Regions from separate parts of the Homo sapiens genome. Here region 2 is linked to region 1. Evidence: promoter capture Hi-C in human tissues and cell types (Jung and others, 2019). All regions are on one chromosome and are shown on one strand. Each heading gives the region's core, a stretch centred on a gene start or on the middle of the fragment in contact. The rest is flanking DNA. Distances are from core to core; before and after follow the strand shown.

Region 1 (3,431 bases), core at 886-3,385:
ACCAACACAGTGGGTGGGTTCAGTCGTTTGACATCAACCCCATGATCACAGCAAGGATTTAGTAAGGGGATTTATTACTTGTAACGAAGTAATGAGACCACCAGGGATACTTCCCAAAATAATGTCTCCCTGAGATGGGGGCTGGGTCAGGTTTTCATAAGCATTGGGTATTAAGGGTATATCCTGATGGCTTTGGATCTTACAATGAGGTGATGCTGAGAGGCATGATCTGACTGGATCCTGCCATCCAGTGTCCACTTCTTAATTCAGCCCTGGTCCTAATTCAAAACACTTACATTCTCCCTCTGATTGCATGCTTGGTTCATCTGAGGATGCTCAGGTAACATGATCTGAGGGTCCCCGGCAACTGAAAGACAATGCACAACTTTGTTATATAAAAGTTAAACCAGATAGGTCTGGTGCTGCTACCCTGTAACCAGTTACCATACATGGAATGGCTTAAAATAATACCAATTTATTATTATCTTACAGTCCTGGAAGGTTGGAAATCTTCAAAGGGCTTCACCACACTAAAATCAAGATGTTGCCAGAGGAGCTATCCCTCTGGCATTTCTAGGGAAGAATCTGTTTCTTTGTCTTTTCCAGGTTCTGGAGACAGCCTGTATTTCTTGGATCTTGGCTTCCTTCCATCTTCAAAGCCAACGATGACCAGTGTAGACTTTCTATGCTGCTTCAATCTGACATGGAGTCCCTGCCTTCCACATCTAAAGTACCCTTGCAATTACATTGGCCAAGATAACCCAGAATAATCTTAAATTAAACTCAGCTGAATAGCAATCTTAATGATCCTTTGTCAGGTAATATAAAATGGTACATGTTCTGGAGAACAGGACATGGACATCTTTAGGGGACCGTTACCTGCCAAACACAATGAGGGTAGTGTCTAAATGAGTTTTCAAATGGACAACAGTAACAACATCAACTTGGTGTTTAACCACATTGCTCTGTCTGTCCCATGCAGGAAGCAGGGAAAGGAGGGGCTCAAGAGTAGAGGACGGATGTGGGGGTGAAAGAAGAGGATTCAAATGAGCCAGGTTGCTTTGTCTCGGGGAGGGGGGTGCACGGTGGGATCCTCTCCTGAGAATGACTGCTGAAACAATAGGTAGTTGTGGCAGGTGGCGGAGATCCAAGCTGGTTTGATACCAGCCACATTTCCACACTGCCAAATATCATGGCAAGAGAAGACTTGACAGGGAACCGAAGAGAAGCCAGGACCATCCCTACCTGGCGGCATCAAAGAGAGAGGACTGTTATGACCTCCTGCGGGTCCTGACAGGGAAAGGTCCTCTTTTGGGGGCAACTGTGGGGACGGTGCAATGCCAACGTGAGCCACCATTTGAAATGAGAAACAGCGGTGTGGCAGAAAGAAATGAGTCTGGTGCAGACCAGTGGTTGGTTTCCTAGGGTTAGAGGTCTAGGTCTACCTTCTTTTAGAAGAGGGGCAGTGGTGAGTCCTTGATGGGAGCCCCCTGCCCCGGAGTTCACTTAAGAGCAGGTGTACCTTCCTCCCCTGCGTGGCTCCACGAAGCTGGGAAAGAAACGCACAGGACGACCACCCTAGAACCCCGGGCCTGTCTGGACTGAAATCGCCTCTCCCCTCCCACACTGCAGTGCTGACACCCCCTCTCCCATTAACATCCAGGAAGGAGGGTGAGCAGACTAGGGAGGGGGAGAGGGCAAACACCCAGCAGTCCTTATAGGGGGGCGGTTGGGGCGGGGGTGCAGACACACCAAGGGACGGTTTGGTATCCATCCGCTGCTCCCTCCAGCGCGGCTCTTCGCGACCTCGCGATCCTGTCCTCCGCCCGGCCCCGCAGCCGCCCGCCGGTGCCATATATTATAGCAGCGCCAGAAATGTGGTGGTCGTCGCCACGTTAGGGTCCGCGGGGTCCTCCTGAGGCAGCCTGGTGCCAACCCGCAGGCCCCGGCTGGGGCTCGTCCTGGCCCCGCCCACCTCTGGGTCGGAACTATGGTGGTTCTGTGAGGGGGGGCGTCCTGCACTTTCGCGCCGTATCCCTCCGCCCCCCTTCCCGACACCCTCGCGGAGAGCGGTTCTTGCCGCATCCTGCGCAGCCCCTGCCCAGTTTGGTGCAGAGGCGTGGGGGGCGGGACTCGTCTTTGCCATTCGGATCGCTGGGAAAGCGGTGGGAATCCAACTGAAGAGCAGCCAGAGGAGAGCTGAAGAGAGGAGGGGGAGGCCGATGACCTGGGCTCTGGGCCTCTGAAGGCAAGTAGGGGTGCGTGAGGTGGGGGGCCGTGGTGTGGGGGTGGTCCGCCAGGGTGGACCGGCTGGCAACCTGCCCCCCGGACCCTGACAGCCTGGCAACGAGGAGACGATCCGTTCGGAGCCGGGCGCTAGAGAGAGGTGCGCAGTGCCCGAGATCCCTGGCTATGGGGAGGCGGTGACTGGTGCGGGCCAGGCCGGACCAAGGGCTGAGGGGCTGGCTCCAGAGGCACCGTCAGATCGTCTGGAGGAGAACCGCGCTGACCGCTTCCCAGCCAGCTTTGCAGGCGCCCGCGCGCAGCCCTCGACGGTTTCGGTACCGAGAGACGGCTGTGGGGGAGGCTCCTGCGGGAGAAATGGCCAAACGGGAGCCGTGTTGGGGGGCGCCCGGGAGGCAGTTGGGGGGCGCCTGGGGGGGCCCTCGTGGGCCAGCGTCCCAGCTCTGTGCCTAGCCCGTGGGAGGTGGGTCGCGTTCGCTGCTCCGGGCCCTGATTCCGGAAAGGGGCCTGTGGGGCCCCGTGTCCTGGGTGCTGTCCCTTCCCACAGACTCCAGGTTGATGTCAAAGTCTGTCTGCGCGGTAGGTCTGGCGTATTCTGACAGGACACAGTGAGCATCTGTAGAGGAGAGGCTTGAAATAAAGGAGGAGCACGAATATTCCCTGGATTTCTGGAGGTGTGTGGGGATGTGGGGTGGGTGCCAAACACTGGAGAACCGAATCGGGGTGGGGGACTGCGACCAGAGCAGGTCAGGCATCCAGGAGCACCTCTTAATCTTCCCCTCTCTAATGGTGTTCCAGGCGCTTCCCCCACCTTCCATCCCCATCTGCCTCCCCCACCGTCCTAAACTGGGGGCTTGAAAGGGTGAGCTTTGGAGGTAGGGGTGATGAGGGAGACATACTGACAAGTACCAATTCACGACCTGTTTTCTAGAATATGTGGCGCCCTTCCCCCATTTTCTGCTGCGCAGAGCAAGGGGATGTGGCGCACCTAGTGGTGAATCCTCAGAATTGGAGAAGGGAGTAATGAGAAGAGTATGACGTCAAGAGAAGGAGTTGTTATCTCTAGAACCTTGAAGCAGGGCCTAAACAAAACGAGAATATTCCACCAGCAAAACCCCGAATGTTGAAAGACAGATATCAATAATATGGGGATTCTTATCCTTAGCGTTGGTCTCTCTACCAAGGGC
Region 2 (3,697 bases), core at 628-3,127, 44 kb after region 1:
TGTCTCTGGCATGGCTTGTTGGAGCTACACTGCATAATAAGGGTATTGTCCTCCAAATATCAGCGGTTTGTATTCTGTTACAGATAGCTGCTTCTGATTACTGAGGTGCAGGTAAATAAACCTGGCAACTGTTGTTTTACCCCTCACCAGCTCAAGCAGCTTCCAGAGGATTTAAGGGAGCCTCATCATCATTTTTTTTTTTTTTGGACATTCAAAAACAACTGCATATACGGAGTAATTTAGAAAGGCACTGTGTATACCCAAGGAAAGATACGGTCCCAGAAAAGACCTGAGAAGACCTTAAGCTTCCACCCCATGCTGATTTCTGGCATAGAGACATGTTACAACAATTTTTTAAACCGCAGAAAACCTTAGGGAAGGGGATACACAATTTGACTTCCAGAGTTACCACATCATAAGATTCAAATGTGCACTCTTTAACAAAAGGCCACAAGGCATGAAAAGAAACACAAAAGTATAGCCTATTAAAAGAAACAAAATAATAAATAAACAAAAAAACATGCCTGAGGAAGCACAGATGCCAGACTTACTAGACAGAGATGTTAAAACTGTGATCTTAAATATGCTCAAAATGCTAAAGGAAGACATGAATAATGACAGTAAAATGGTGTATGTACAAAATGGCAGTATCAATAAAGATATAGAAATTATGAATAAAGAACGCAAAGGAAATTCTGGAGCTGAAAGGTACAGTAACTCAAAAGACATTCAATTAGTGCAAAAGCTGATTTCAGCAAGCGGAATAAAGATTCAGAGAACTAGAAGATAGAACCTTTTAAATTATTGAGTCTGAGGGACAGAAAGGGAAAAAAATGAAGAAAAGTGAACAGAGCCTAAGGGACCTGTGGGACGTGATCCAGCAGAACAACAGGCCAACTTACACATTATGGGAATATTAGGAAGAGAAGAGAGAGAGAAAGGGGTAGAGAGATCATTCAAAAAATAATAATGGCTAAAAACTTTCCAAATTTGATAAAACACTTGAATGTAAAAATCCAAGAAGCTCAATGAACTAGAAACAGGACAAAACAAAGTGACATATGCTAAAACACATTATAATCAGATTATTGAAAGACAAAGAGTGAATCTTAAAAGCAGAAAGAGAGCAGTGACTGATCATATATAAGTGATTGTCAATAAGACTGTCAGCCAATTTGGTATCAGAAACCTGGAGGCCAGAATGTGTTGGGTTTATATCATCAAAGTGCTTGGGGAAGAGTCAACGGAGAATTCTATGTCCACCAAAAAATATTTTTTAATGGGGATAAATTAAGACATTCTCAGATAAACAAAATCTGAGGGAGTTCATTTTCACTAGATATGCCAAGCAAGGAATTCTAAAGAGAGTCATGCAGATTTAAACAAAAAGAAACTAGACAATAACTCACAGCTGTATGAAGAGATAAAGATCTCTAGCAAATATAAATACGTAAGTAATGACAAAAGCCAGTACTGTTAGAATTTTGGATTGTAGCTCCACTTTTTTATTTTTTGTATGACCTGAAAGGCAAATGCATAAAAATCAATATTTAATGTATGTTTTGGACATGCAATGTATAAAGTTATAATTTGTGACAATAACAGAAAAGAGGATGGAGCTGACTAAAGAAGATAACAAAATCTCAACAGTGGAATGACATTAGCAAGATGGCAGACTAGGAAGCTTCAGGCCCCTCCCTCACAAAGACTCCAATTTAATAGCAGTATATCAACCAGAGTACCTATGTTAAACTCTAGAGAACAACTGAGAAGAGAGACCACCCAGGTCATGATTTTCCCCACCCCTTTTGCTGGAATCCTTTCTTGATTTTACATTGTCATCAGCAATGCATGAGGGTTCCAGTTTCTCTACATCCTCACCAACTCCAATTGGTTCAAAGATTTAAACACAGATCTTGAAATCATAAAAGTACTAAGACAATATATTAGAGTTTTTTTATATTTTATATATAAATTAATTATATATTTTACATTTTATTTTGTATATTTTATTATATATATTTATATAAATTTATATTTTTATATTTTTTATATTTTATATTTATAAATTAAATAAATTTATATTCTAGCATCCTATTAGGTGTGAAGTGGTATCTTATTGTGGTTTTTATTTATGTTTTATTAATAACTAATGCTTCTATCTAACCTATTTATATTCTAGATTAGATAGAAATAAACGGGACATAAAAAATTGATAAAGTTAACTGATAATGTTAACATGATTCATAATATCATAAACATTTGCAGATGAATTAATCTTGCATATAGAAAATCCTAGGAGATCCACTAAAACCTGTTTAATGAACAACTTCAGTAGAGTTGCATGATAAAATATCAATATGCAAAAACATATTGTATTTCTATACAGTAGTAATGATCAAACAAATAATGACATTTTTATAACTGCAAGCTCATCAAAATAATTTTTAAAACTAAGGAGTAAGTTTTACCAAAAAAGTGCAATATTTGTTCACTGAAAACTCTAAAAATTGTTGAAAGGAATTGAAGACCTAAATAAATGGAAAGACACCCCATGTTTATGGATTGTGAGACTTAATATTATTAAAATATTGATACCAGCTAAATTGATCTACAGACTCAGTGTAATCCTTACCAAATTCAGCTGCCTTTTCGTAGAAATTCAGAAGCTGCTCTCAAAATTTATATGCAAGTGATCCACAGTATCCAAAATAATCAATAAAAGAACAAAGTTGGAGGACTCACACTATTTGATTTCAGTGCTTACTATGAAACTACAGTAATCCAAACTATGTGGTACTGACATAACGGTAAACATAAATATGAATGAAAAAGTATTGAGAGTCCAGAAATAAATCCTCACATGTATTGAGTTTGACAAGAGCATGAGAGCCATACAACAGGGTAAGAATTGTCTTTTCAACAAATGGTGTTGGGATAATTGGACAGGCACCTGCAAAATAATGACTTTTAATCCCTGCCTCACACTGTATATAAAAATGAACTAGAAATTGTTCAAAAACCTAAATGTAAGAGCTAAATCTATAAAACCCTTAGAAGAAAACACATGGTATAAATCTTTGTGACTATGGACCTTTGTGACATTTGGTGACTCACATATGACACCAAAGCACAAAGAACAAAGGGAAAAATAGGCAAACTGTACGTCATCGAAATTAAAGACTTTTCTGCTTCAAAGGACATAAGTAAGTGAAAACCCACCCCAGAGAATGGGAGACAATATTTCAAATCATATACTTAGCAAGGAACTTCAATCTAGAATGAATAAAAACTGTTTCAACTCAAAAATAAAAAGACAACCCAATATAAAAATGGTCAAAAGATCTGGATAAATATTTCTCCAAAGAAAATACAAAAAATTGCAAGTAAGCACATGAAAAGATGCTTAACATCATGAGCTATCACTGAAATGCAAATCAAAACCCCCAAACATTTCCATACTCATTAGGATGAAAATAATTAAAAGACAGATAATAAAATGTGTTGGTAAGGATATGGCAATATGAGCATCTTCATACACTGCTGGTGGGAATGTAAAATTGTGCAGTTGTTTTGGAAAGCAGTCTGGCAGTTTTTCAAAAAATGACCTTATGTTCTAGCAATTTCACTCCTAGGCATGTATCCAAGAGAAATGAAAACATATGTCCACATAAAATGTTGTGCACACATGTTCATA

What was found. The method cuts DNA at HindIII sites, captures the fragments that hold promoters and counts their contacts. A contact is called where the count stands out against the background at its distance.
Region 2: a fragment that was not itself captured here is called in contact with the fragment with the promoter of GPRASP1 in region 1 in 1 of the 25 tissues and cell types used here (aorta).

Annotation. Positions count from the first base shown.
Region 1 is chrX:102,649,348-102,652,778 of GRCh38, forward strand. GPRASP1 (G protein-coupled receptor associated sorting protein 1) reads left to right here and starts at 2,136. Exons shown (of 6, transcript NM_001184727.2): 1 at 2,136-2,248; 2 at 2,340-2,386; 3 at 2,828-2,918. The region is part of intron 4 of ARMCX5-GPRASP2 (ARMCX5-GPRASP2 readthrough); the gene reads left to right. The HindIII fragment of the contact is 5,623 bases long and covers 1-3,431 here.
Region 2 is chrX:102,694,078-102,697,774 of GRCh38, forward strand. The region is part of intron 4 of ARMCX5-GPRASP2 (ARMCX5-GPRASP2 readthrough); the gene reads left to right. Among named protein-coding and RNA genes, the nearest start is that of GPRASP2, 17 kb to the right of the region's middle. The HindIII fragment of the contact is 7,384 bases long and covers 1-3,697 here.